Regions from separate parts of the Homo sapiens genome. Here region 1 is linked to region 2. The links are contacts of gene promoters, found by promoter capture Hi-C in human tissues and cell types (Jung and others, 2019). All regions are on one chromosome and are shown on one strand. The core of a region is centred on a gene start or on the middle of the fragment in contact, and the rest is flanking DNA. Distances in the headings are between cores, read along the strand shown. Region 1 overlaps USP45 (ubiquitin specific peptidase 45). Region 2 holds the start of FAXC (failed axon connections homolog, metaxin like GST domain containing).

Region 1 (6,545 bases), core at 3,350-5,849, 160 kb after region 2:
TTTTAATTTCAGGCCAGAGGAGAAAGTTTCAAAAAAGTAATATGGATTCTCATTAAATTTAATTTCTTGCCAACAGGCTAACATGCTCAATATACAGTATTTACCTAAAACAATCATGGGCAAAGTTAATTTCCCTATCATTTAAAAATGTGCACACTGTGGAACACCCAGCATCCTGGCAGGCCAGTGGTGCCCTTCTGCAAACACACATTTCCCAATCCCGTACACAACTTCACCCCAGCCTACTGAGAACTACTGAGACACAGACCAATCATAGCGATTTCCCTCACTAGGTAAGTAAAGAAATGAGATGCAATTCTGGTTAATGCAACATGAGGGGAAGTCAAATCCGCTGAATCTTTCCAGAAGGCTTTTTTTTTGTTTGTTTTTTAAGAGGAACACAACCATGAGGTTGAGGATGGCACAGCAGAAAACAGAATAAACCTCAGTTTTTAATGTTCTTTCCATTAAATTAACTAATCCTGAAGTGGCCTTACTTCTGGACATTTTGTGTGAAATAATAAAGATTTCTCTTATTTTTTTAAAAAAGTATATACTTTTAATTTCATTAAAAAAATTCCTTTATTACAGATATCAATAACTTTTAAACTTTAAGATTTTAAATTACTTTGCAAAAGCAGCAGAATAATCTGTTTTGAGAGAGAAAAAAATTAATCTGAAAGGTAGATCCATTTCCTAAGTAAATACAAAAGGTAAAGACTGGTCCAGATATGGGAACTACTGCAAATAGGTTGAATTACCTCTGCAAGTATTTATAAACCACACCTGATTACTTTCTGAACATAGCATACCTTTTACTTTACCTTAACAATCATTTTTAAGTTCATTCCTGGAAAATTTCTATCTAAATTGGAATAAATTTATCTTAACTCCTATGCATGACCAACAGTCCAACTCACAATAAGCATTTAAGGAAAACATTTCAGACAAACTCACATATAAATAATACTTTTCTTACCTGGAAGCCACACTTGAGGCACAACCAAATATCAGAAGTAAGTACTAGCTGCCCATCATAGAATCTTCTTTCTTTTAAACATTCTGAGCAAACTGACCACAGATTCTCAGCTATTGCTCTCTTTACATGATTCACGCTGATAGCATGACTTACATGTTGGCAAGTTAAACCTACTGAATAAGATAAAACAAAATCTCAACATTTTCTTTGCTACACCAAAGTGCTACCATTACTGAGCAAACCTCAAAAGTATTAAATGCTGTTAACTAAAAAGCACAGAGATTGAACACACAAAATAACTCAAAAGATATATGCTATATAATTCCATTTATATAATGTTCATGAAATAACATAATTATAGAATGAGAAGAGATTCATGGTTGTAGGGAGCAATGGACGCAAGGCAGAGGGTGTTGCTATAAATGGACAGCACATAGAGTGGTGATGACACAGTCAAGTATCTTGATTGGTGGTGGTTATACAAAGCTATACATGTACTAAAATGGGATGATGTTTCGATAGCCAGTTTGCTGCACTGAAGGATGTCTGAATTATCTCTTTAAATATCATTAGGACCTTATCTGATGTCCCTAATTTATTAGAGTTTAAATTTTTGAACTAATTTTAGATTCACAGGAAGGTATAAAGAAATATACAAGGAGGTCTCATTCACCCTTCACTGAGCCTCCCCTGATGTTAATGTTTTGCACTGCTATAGTAAAATATCAAAACCAGGAAGCTGACGTTGGTACAATCCTTAGAACTTATTCGGATTTCAGAAGACATAGGCACTCATATGTGAGTGTGTTTGTGTATAGCTGTATGCAACTATGCATACCTAAAATGGAAAAAATATATTAAAAATATCCCTTTAAATGGAGAGAACTAGCAAGAAAGTGAGGAAAATCCTCAGAGGCCCAAATCAAAAGCATGAGGCTAAAGAGAAAACCAAGCCCTGAGGCCAGCAGCTCCCAAAAGCCATCTGCCAAGCTCTGGTGGCTTGGTGACATGGTTTTAATAGGCCATGAGAAAGAGACCAAAAAAAAAAAAAAAGCCAATCTAAGTTACTTCATGTTATAAACTAAACAAAATCCTAATAAAAATGCCAACAGGATTTTTTGGAACTAGAAAAGGTGATTCTAATATTTATGCAGAAAACAGTAAAAATAAAGAGTAACAGATTTCTTAATTAAAAACATATACAGTCTTCCCTCAGATACTTGAGGCAGGGAGGTGGGGTGGGGTAGTTGGTTCTAGGACCTCCCCACATATACCCAAATCTGTGCATACTCAAGTCCCGCAGTGGGCCCCGTGGAATCTGCATTTAGAAGTCAGCCTGCCAAGTATGCAGTTTTCACGCATCCCAAGAATAGTGTATTTTCCATCTAGGTTTGGTGGAAAAAAATTTGTGTACAAGTTGATCCTCAGCGTTCAAACCCATGTTGTTGAAGGGTCAACTGCATTGTTATTTCTTCTCAACACTATTTGGGATGCCATATATCACAATTTACCAGCAATATCATCTGAAGAGTCTTCATCATGAGGTACAGTAGGCCTTTTACTTCTTTTGGCTTTCTCAGGTAAAGCTTTAGTTGGATCTTTCACCCGCATCTGTTATTTACTGAAGGGATTGAGGGAAAAAAATTCATACATTTTAGTCTTCAAAATTAAAATTTTATATTTTATTTAATGTGTATTAAAACTGAAATGACTTCAATTTCAACTGGTCCGGGAAATCAACAGAGGAAGAAGAGGGGAACATCACTTGAAATGAAATAAATCTTTGTTAAATCAGTATACACATGGTATATTCCATTGGCTTTTGCCAACTATACCATTATGGACTAAATGTTTGTGTCCCCACTCCAAATTGATATGTTGAACTCTAATCCCCAAAGTGATGATACTTGGAGGTGAAGCCTTTGAGAGGTAATTAGGTCATGTAGGTGGAGCCCTCATGAATGAGACTGGCCTCTTATAATAAGAGGCTAGAAAGCTACCTTTGTATCCACATGAGGATATACGAGAAGATGGCCATCTATAAACCAGGAAGAAGGCCCTCACCAGATACTAGATTTGCCAGCATCTTGACCCTGTACTTCCCAGCTCCCAGTATTGTGAGAAATAAGTCTGTGTTGTTTAAACCACCCAGTCTATAATAATTTGCTATACCAGGCTGAACCAAGACACAACCCCTAAATATATGATGTCCAGGTGAATGACCAAAACTAAAGTTTTCATCAACGGAGTAAGTATTGCTTCTGGATAATGAGTTCTCTTTACCCTTTCCTCCCTTCTGCTAGCAAGGAAATAGTAGGAGCTGGATGAGCCATACTGGATCAAAAATGGATAGCTGTAAGCCAAGCATAGTAAAGCCACTCTATACCTGTGTTGTACAACTAGCACTGGAATATTAAGAGAAAATTAAATTTCTATCTTTTTAAGCTACTACATTTTTGGGGGTTTTTCACTCTAGCTTTTTATCATGAAAAATTTTAAACATCTACAAAAGTTAAAAGAACAGTATAATGAACACTCATATACTAATTAGATTCCACATTTATATTATTATTACTATTATTATTATTATTATTATTTTGAGATGGATCTCGGCTCACTGCAACCTCCACGTCCTGGGTTCAAGCAATTCTCCTGCCTCAGCCTCCCAAGTAGCTGGGATTACAGGCGTGTGCCACCAGGCTTGGCTAATTTTTTTTGCATTTTTAGTAGAGATAGGGTTTCACTGTGTTAGTCAGAATGGTCTCGATCTCCTGACCTCGTGATCCGCCCACCTCAGTCTCCCAAAGTGCTGGGATTACAGGCGTGAGCCACCGTGCCCGGCTATTATTATTTTTTGAGACAAAGTCTCACTCTGATGGCCCAGGCTGGAGTGCAGTGGCCTGATTTCAGCTCACTGCAGCCTCAACCTCCCCAGGCTCAGGTGATACGCCCACCTCAGCCTCCCAAGTAGCTAGGACTACAGGTGCACACCACAATGCCCAGATAATTTTTTTGTATTTCTTAGTAGAGATGGGATTTCCCCATGTTGCCCAGGCTGGTCTCGAACTCCTGGGCTCAAGCAATCCACATGCCTTGGCTTCCCAAACTGCTGGGATTACAGGTATGAGCCATGGTGCCCCACCAATTCCACACCTATTAACAATTAGCTATGTTTGTTTTTATCTAAATATCAATATGTGTGTATAGAGAGACACATATATGTATGTGAGTGTGTGTATATATATATATATATATATATATATATATATATATATATACACATAGTTGAACTATTTGAAAGTTGTAGAGATCTTGACAGTTCATCCCTAAATACTTCAGCATGTATCTCTTAAAAATAAGCACATTCTCCTATATAACAATGTAATCATATCTAAGAAAATTAATAATTTTCTAATATCATCTCATATTCCATCATATTCTAATTTCCTTAGTTGACCCTAAATTGTCTTCTATAGCTGGTTTTTTGAAAAAGATTCAATCAAGGTTTGCACTTGATATTGGTTATGTCTCTTTAGTATCTTTTAATCTATTAACAGAACAGTTCTTCCAACCTGTTACTTGCCTAAGACTTTAGCTTTTTAAAGAGATCAGGCCAGTGCATGAGTCACCTTGAGGGTCTTGTTAAAATGAAAGTTCTGATGCAACAAGTCTGGCACAAGACCTGAGATTCTACCTACCTAAAAAGCTTCTAACTGAAGCCACTGCTGGGGGCCCATAGAATACTCTTTCGACAGCAAAGTTATATAATGTCTCACACTGAATTTGTCTCTTTCTTCATAGTGTTATTTACCTCTATCCCTTATATTTATTAAAAATTCAGTTAATTATCAAAGATTTTAGATACAAGCTAAGCATTTTTTAAAACTACTATATTTTGGAGTCTCTGTTAGAGTAGCTTGGCCTACCTTTTACTCTCCTGCCTGGTGGCTAAGCAACATCGCAATTTTCATGGTTGCTGACTTACTTCTCAATGATCAAGGTAATGAATCTTTCAATTCAGTACTAAATTCCAAATCTTGATTTATTCATTCCATAATTCACAATAAGGGAGCTTTCAAGTTTACCATTAAGTCCAACGGTCATCACTACTGAACTAAGTTGCAATAAATTAAGGGCTTCCGGGTTAGGAACATGTAAAAAGCCTCTGAGTTCCTTGAGCACTTCATCTCTACCTTCTCCCTCCAAACTTCCTCATCTACTCTCCCCTACAGTTCCACCTTATAAAATCACTAATTTAAGTATCCCCTTCTCTGACAGCAACTTCCCAGTTCTTCCAACTTGCCTGATCAGCCACTCATATTTTCCTATAGTGTCCAGGCTGACAAGAGGCTGCATCTCAACAAGTCCTTCCATGACCCTTACAGCAGGGCAGGGAGAAGTGGAAATGGCAAATGGAGAGCTGCTTCCTAAAGCAAGTCACATGGCACATTTAACTTCAAGCAGACATGGAGAGGGGTTGCCCATGTACAAAGAGTGCAGCATTACATGTACCCAAAAATAGGTGAACCGGAATACTTGTGCAGAGCCTTAAGGACTACATCACCTCTCTCGCAGAACCCAATCCTAGATGAACCCAATTAACCATTTTCTCCATGTCGGGAGAAAGTCTCTTAAGAAAGCAGACTAGGTCCATTATTATTCACTTCACCTTCTGGTCAACTTACATACTATCCACAGAGCCATTTCAAATCTTCTTCACTTTCCTCAAACCTCTAACCCCTCCAACTCCCAACTAACTTACCAAAAACTGATCTAGTCTTTTATAAGGGAAAAGAGACATAAGCAGACGGCAAATTTGATCTTTCTAACCCCAAATTTGCAAACCTACCTCCATCAATTTAAATTTGATGTCCTGAAAAGAGATAGGTATAACTAATAAAGTACAGGGAAAATGGCCTATGAGAAACTGATTATATTTTCTCGCTGTGGTACAGATAAGCTCTTGATAAAGATGAGCATTAACACAGATAATGCTAGCAAAATAATAAACAAAACCAGGCATTTGACCTACATACTGTAAGCAACCTGTGCCTTTTTTCAAAAACACTGACTCAAAATTAACTTGGTAATGTAGAGGCAATTTCTGATGATTTTTCTGCCATATGTAATGTCTAAACAGACAGAATCATTTGGTACAGTAACCCAGAATTCGGCAATTATTTATCTGTAGTTTTCCAATTTCCATTTGAGGCAAAAGGGCAAAATTAAAAGTCCAATTATTAGAGCTTCCAATACTTTTTATCATCAAAATTGTGTCTGGGCACTGGAGACTGGGAAGGATGGGAGTGGGGTGAGGAATGAGAAATTGCTTAATGGACACAATGTACATTATTCAGGTGATGGTTACACTAAAAGCCCAGTACCACTAGGAAATATATCCTCGTAAAAAAACGGCACTTATATCCCTTACCTTTATACAAATTTACAAAACTGTGGCTGAGGATCTCCGTGATCTCCCCCACATTTAGAGCTTTGATAGGATGCACGGGACTCAACATATAGTTGAATTCATGGCTGACATTTATTACACAATGCAGTATGGATA
Region 2 (6,618 bases), core at 3,536-6,035:
CCATGTCATGGTAAGAATGGAGGCTAATTATCTACCAAGCATATGCTAATGACTTTATATATATTATATATGTTAACTTATTTAATTCTGACAATGACACTTTAGAATGGGTACTGTTACAGTTTAAATTTGGGATATCATATTATACTATTTTATAGTAGATAAGAAAATTGAAGCTCAAAGACGTTAAATAACTTGCCTAAGGAACATCAATTTAAGATTGACTCTGAAATAACTCGTTTCCATGCTCTTAAGCACTTCAAGGTCACCAAAATGGGCAATTCCTCGGTTAATCGTATTAAAACTGCCAGTTTGACTTAGACCACTGAAGCCTGAAACTTTCTGATAAAAGTCACAGCTAATGATGGCCAAGTTTTATTGAATTTTCACCTTGACAAACTCTGTTCTAAGCATGTCACGTGTTATCTCATTTAATCAATGCTATGAGAAAAGCTACTACTACTATTACCATTTTACAGATGAGAAAACTGAGTCATCAAGAGCTTACTGTCATATCCAAGGTTATGTGGTTGGTTACAGACAGAGTCTGAATTTGAACGCAGACAGTCTGGCACCAGAGCCCTCCCTCCAACATGTCAGAAACTCCTCTCTAATTTAGGATCAGAGGTTTGGGTAGGTTGTTCCCTGTACAGCTATATTTTATAAAGTGATCTTACCATAAGGTTTATATAAGAGGACAGCCATAGAGCATTAACTAGCTAGTTTACTACTATTCCCGGGGCTAACGATACCACAGATGAACATGCCTCTGTATACAGCTGATGATTTGTTAGTTTGCAGAGATCAGATGTTGATTCGCCAACTAAATGCTCTAGAAGAGGCTGAGCCCGTGTGTCAAAAGTGCAAATAAGCACTGGTAATGAAGTTAGTACTTAGTCATTCAATTTACAAACAAAAATTTCCAAAGCCTGATTGAATTTAAGATAGCTGCCAAGCTATCTCCACTCAGGGAAAACAAAGTAGTGTGTTGGAACAATATTTATTTTAAAATATGGTGCTAAAAAACATGGATAAAACCCCAAAAACCTACTTCAGTTATATTCATTAATTAAACTTCCTAAGTAATTCTCACCTGTCAACTTTACTCTTCCACTCTAGAGACACAGTCATAGATTAAGGTTATGTCTATGCAGCAGAAAATCCAAGTAGGCTGGGGAAGAGTTTGCAATAGCCAGAAACTCAGGGTAGTCATTTTAAGGTGTATTTTCTATCTTACATATTTCAGATTTTGTTTTGTTTTCTGCCTAAATTATAAAGACTATTGAAACCTAGATTTCACCTTAAGTGGAGGTAGTTATCATGTAACCTCTAAAGCCTTGGTCTTTGACCTTCCTGCCTGGTTTTTTTCCCTTTGCCCCTCCACTCCTCTTCCCCTAGACGCTGCAAGAAAGGCACCTGATACAGGTCTGTCTTCCCTGAGCAATGCTTCAGTTCTCCACATTTCTCTTCCTTCCTCTTCCTCCAACAAAACGGATTTCAAAGTAGGTACTTTTTTTGAGACGGAGTCTCGCTCTGTCGCCAGGCTGGAGTGCAGTGGCACCATCTCGGCTCACTGCAACCTCCGCCTCCTGGGTTCAAGCGATTCTCCTGCCTCAGCTCCCCGAGTAGCTATAGGACTACAGGCGCGTGCCACCACGCCAGGCTAATTTTTGTGGGGTTTTTTTGTTTGTTTTTTAGTAGACGGGGTTTCACAATGTTGGCCAGATGGTCTCGATCTCTTGACCTCGTGATCCGCCCGCGTCAGCCTCCCAAAGTGCTGGGATTACAGGCGTAAGCTGCCGCGCGCCGGGCCAAAGTAGGTACTTTCTAAGAGGCAGTGGTTAAAAACTGCAGGCTCTGATTTGAATCTAGATCCTACTACTCTTACTGTGTGATCTTGGGCAAGCTGCTTAACCTCCCTGAGCTGCAATTTCCTTATCTATGAAATGAACAAACAACAGTTGTGAGGAATAAATGCAGTCACACATGCAAAGCCCATCCTACTAAGTATTCAGAAATAGCCCTTTTTTATTGTTTGCATTACTTCAGAGCTTTCTAATTCAACTCAAACATTTGTCCAGAAACAAAACTGGCCAAGTATGGTGGCTCACACCTATAAACCCAACACTTTGGGAGGCCAAGGAGGGAGGATTTCTTGAGGCCAGGAGTTTGAGACAAGCCTGGGCAACATAGTGAGACCCCATCTCCACAAAAAAGTTAAAAAAAAAATTAGCCAAGTGCAATGGTTCATGCCTGTAATCCCAGCAACTCAGCAGACTGAGGCCAGAGGATCGCTTGATCCCAGGAGTTCAAGAGCAGCCTGGCCAACACGGTGAAACCCTATCTCTACTAAAAATACAAAAATTATCCAGACGCGGTGGTGCACGCCTGTAATCCCAGCTACTCAGGAGGCTGAGCCAGGAGAATCATTTGAACCAGGGAGGTGGAGGTTGCAATGAGCTGAGATCGAGCCACTGCACTCCAACATGGGCGACAAAGCGAGACTCAGTCTCAAAAGAAAAAAAAAAAAAAAGGAAGAAAAAGTGTGAATCAACCTAGGATTAAACTCCTTAGTCCAAATAAGCATCCAGTGCTGAGGTATATAGTCCCCTAAATGAGTTAGTAGCTATCTGTGGGCAGAGAGCTCTCCAGTCTCCAGTGACAACACCTGCCAGGGCAGGGCCTACTCCGGAGTGGCAGCTGAGCTCCACACTGTTTCTGCAAGGTCATTTAAGCTTTGTTTTAAACTTGGTCCTGTGAAGCCTTCACTCCCTCCACTGCTGAGAAGCCTCATGGTTTGGGATCTCCTCAAAGGCTTTAGACTAGAATACAACTGAGAAACAACTGGGTTACCATTTAAATTACTGCCCAAATGTTTTAGTTCTTTAGGTAGCTTGAAATCTAACTTGAAATACAGTTCTAAAACTAGCACAATTAACAAATAATCTAGAGAGATAATTCTCTTTAAATTTTTTTGTTTGGTTCAGCTAGATTCAAGGCAATGTGTTGAGAGAATTAAATGTGCAACAAGCTTAAAATAAACTTCCTCAAATATGGCTAAATAATATGAAAACCAATACATTTCTCCAAACCTAAATGATTTCCCACCCTTTCAGAGATGGGAACTATTCAAAATATGTACGTTAGGCCAAATGCCTACATTAGGCCATCACAATAATCTCCTGGGATCCCTGCAGGCTAGTACAGGTCACCTATCACTGTCTTTGTTTATAACCTATTGTGTAGGATTCCTCCACTGGAATAAGGCAGTGTGGACACATTTCTCTCACTTTAGAAAATACTGGCAAAGAGACATTCTGAGCTATTGAAAACTGGGCTTCTGGTAATCTTCCAGTGACGGAAGGCTCAAATGCATGGAAATTTTAACCATTAATTGATGTATCAATTAGCCAAACGACTGTCTCAGTGCCCTGTGGTATTACTCTACCCAAACAAAAATCTCGTCCCGGCTGGATGTACCAACAGCAGGGGCCTCCATTTTCTGGTATTTCCAACTCAATCTTGTAAACATTCTGCGGCAGCGGATGCAACTGTTTACGGCACTGGGCGACTCCGTGTTGTGCCCAACACACCCATGTGCTAGCCTGTCCTACTGCTCACACAACAATGACATCTAAGCCTGAAGATGGTGCTTGGCGTTCAATACCAGATAAGCAGAGAACCAGGTTAAGGCTGCATCAAAGCTGCCCACCACTACACTTGGTCATGCATCTTTAACAGGGACCCGCAGGTTTCTGGAGCTTTTGCAATTTTTCAGTCTTTTGATGTTGACATTTAGGGAAGAACTAACCTTTAGGTAAAAGATAAGGTTAGCAGTTAATATTCCAGCATTATTACTTATAAACAAGGCATTTCATAAAAGTGTAACCTATTTCTGCAGGGCCCAATTCTATTGTTGCAAACACACTGCACTTAGATCCTCCTAAGGCCATTTCTTAATAGATAACGACAAGTGACCCAGAGCATTTTGGGAGACAAATGTTTTTCCCTCCCAGCACCGGTTTAATTCTCCTTTCAACTCTAAACTGCCCCTCACGGCCAGGTGACCACAAATGCCTTTAGGGAAAGGTAATTGCAGGGCGCTTGGGCATCTGGGCAGCTTGACCGAGGGGCTGGCACGGGCCCCTCTCGCGCCAGCCCTGCCCTAGCCAGGTGCCCCTCTCTGCGCCCCTGTGCGGGGCCCTCTCTCCGGCTCACCTAATGACCAGGAGTTCGTGGAGCAGATACGCAGCTGCGGCCAGCAAAGCTCCCCCGGTCAAGTAAAGGGTTTTCTTCCACCAGGGATCGGAGCCCAGCCCTGCCATGATCCCACCGTAATCCTGCAAAGGGAAAGCGATGATGTCCCCATAAAAGGAGAAGGGCTCCTCGGACCCGGCCCACCAGCCGAAGAAGGAGATGCTCTGGTTCCAGCTCAGATCCACCACGCACGGCCTGGACGAAGCAAAGCCAACCCCCCAGTGCATGCTGCGCGGCTGGCTCCGGGCGCCCCTCCCAGGGCCCGCGCCGCCCGCATGGGAAGGGGCCGGCGCGGCCCGGCGCGGGCTCAGAGGCGCGCGGAGGGCGCGGGCGGCGCGGGCGGCGGCGACTGAGGAGGCGGCGGCGACTGAGGAGGCGGCGGCAGAGGAGGAGGAGGAGGAAGGGCACTGGCCGCGGACGGCGGGCCTGGCCGGCGGGGCCCCAGAGCCCTGGGCGGCAGCAGCGGCCGCCGGCTCCCCCCGCAGCTGCCTCTCCGCCCCGCTCTTTGTGTCGGCGCCTGGAGAAGGCCGCGTGATGTCATTGCTCCCCGGGGCAGGGAAACAGAGGCGGGATAAAGTCACCTACCCCGCGCCCTGCCCCCTCCCCGCATCTCCGCGGTCCGGCCGCCTCCGCCGGGGCCGGATCTGCAGGGCTGAGGCGCGCCGGGCAGGCTCCGCGCCTCCGGGCGGCACGCCCAAAAACCGCTCGCCGCGCGCGGGCAAGGGCGGCGGAGGTGCCTGGAAATGCGGCCCCACCGCGAGGAAGCTGCAGTCGGGGCCCGGATCCCGGTCCTCCCCTACCCCGGCCGGCCCTCCGCCTGCGCTCCAGCCCCTCCCGCGGGCCCCAGAGTAGGGAACGCGCAGGACTCACCTGGGGCGGCGCGGAGCTGCGGGCAGGAGACGCCACCAGGCGGGGGCTGGGAGCGTGGGCCAGGATTAAAGTCGGGAATCAGATTGTTCTGGCCATCAGGAAAGCGCTGCGTATTTGCATAATGTATAAAAACACTCTTATTACATTACACAATTACCTCGGGCTTGACCAGGTGTTCGCAGAGACGAGATGTCTGGTTTGGCAAATAACAAAATACTCTACCTAGAGAGATTTCTCTGACAAACCCAGTTCAAGTCTTTCCTCTTTGAAGTCACTATCAGGGAACTCGCTGATACAGGGTTTCGGTTGGGGGACGGGGGTCCCTCTTTTGTTTTAGAAAATCTGTCTAACAACTGTGTGTGTGTTCAGTGTATTTTTTTCCTTTAACTTCATTTATTAAAGTTCATAAGTACAAAGAATAGAAGCTTGTAATATATGCACAGATTTTAACAAGAGCATGGATAGTTTTAAATTGTTTGGAAGAACTGAAAAAGGATTCGGGCCGTGGAGGTTCATCACTCTCAAGGTGGAAGGATGGGTAAAAGAAACCTCCAGGCTCTTGCCTATGGAGCAGAGATTGAGGCGCAAAAGGACTCCCCCTTTTTTTCCTCTCCTGACACACCCGCCCCTTAGAACAGGCAAGGAGTGTGGTCGTCTTGTTAATAAATAATAAATATGGACGTGTCGCCTCAACGAGACGGGGGGAGGGGCTAGTCAGCTGATGCCTAGGCACCAGCATGTGAGACTCCCCAAACACTCCTGGGAAAATGTGACCTCCCAGGAAGAAGTAATGTGTGTGGTTCTAAGTGAGGCTCCCATAAGTAGGTTGCAAGGAGTGAAACCCAACGGCCTCCTGGGGTGACTGAGGTGGTCACCAGCCGGTCTTTCAAGGAGAGAGGCCAGAAGGCTGCCTGGCCTTGTCGGCAAGAAGCAGAGTAGTTAAGTCTGGGACCAAAGCTGCAGTGCTCTGGAAGAGGGAACAAGGAGGGCTGGCACCAGGGATTCTCCATGCTCCTTCTGTGCCCTTCCCACAGAGCACTCAGTCTTTGCTCTCAGTGAACACTGAGCCAATATTTAAAGAATATAAGTTTGATATTTGGGATCACATTATTTGCATATCTAGGTCTAGACATGGGGATGGGCATAAATTACCTTAAGTGGAAGAATATGGAAGGCAAAAGGGAGAGTCAATCCTGACAAACCTTATGCCCAAAACAAGTTAGAACCCAGAGGAAGTGTAGTATTTTTATCCCAGAAAGCCACTGACTACAATTCACTCTCACTCATAGTGACCTGCCCCACCCACTCATGCAGGCCAGGGGCCCACTGCTGCTTCCTGGTAGTGTCAGACAACTGTTGAGCATCATCTGGTCTCTGGTTCAAATATGGTTTACATTTTTAGAGACACTGCAGTGAACATCTTTAAGAAGCAGATGTGGGCTGGGCACAGGTGGCTCACACATGTAATCCCAACACTTTGGGAGGCCAAGG

Evidence for each region. Contacts are between HindIII fragments. The study calls those that stand out against the background at their distance.
Region 1: a contact is called between a fragment that was not itself captured here and the fragment with the promoter of FAXC in region 2, in 1 of the 25 tissues and cell types used here (H1 embryonic stem cells).

Annotation. Positions count from the first base shown.
Region 1 is chr6:99,507,631-99,514,175 of GRCh38, forward strand. It overlaps USP45 (ubiquitin specific peptidase 45), which reads right to left. Exons shown (of 18, transcript NM_001346022.3): 2 at 2,491-2,600; 3 at 980-1,152. The coding sequence starts at 2,590. Among named protein-coding and RNA genes, the nearest start is that of USP45, 4.5 kb to the right of the region's middle. The HindIII fragment of the contact is 6,905 bases long and covers 1,148-6,545 here.
Region 2 is chr6:99,344,889-99,351,506 of GRCh38, forward strand. It overlaps FAXC (failed axon connections homolog, metaxin like GST domain containing), which reads right to left and starts at 4,786. Exons shown (of 6, transcript NM_032511.4): 1 at 4,219-4,786. The coding sequence starts at 4,484. RefSeq lists enhancers at 1,168-1,668, 1,669-2,169, 3,060-3,624 and silencers at 4,816-4,875, 4,946-4,995, 5,056-5,135. The HindIII fragment of the contact is 6,681 bases long and covers 534-6,618 here.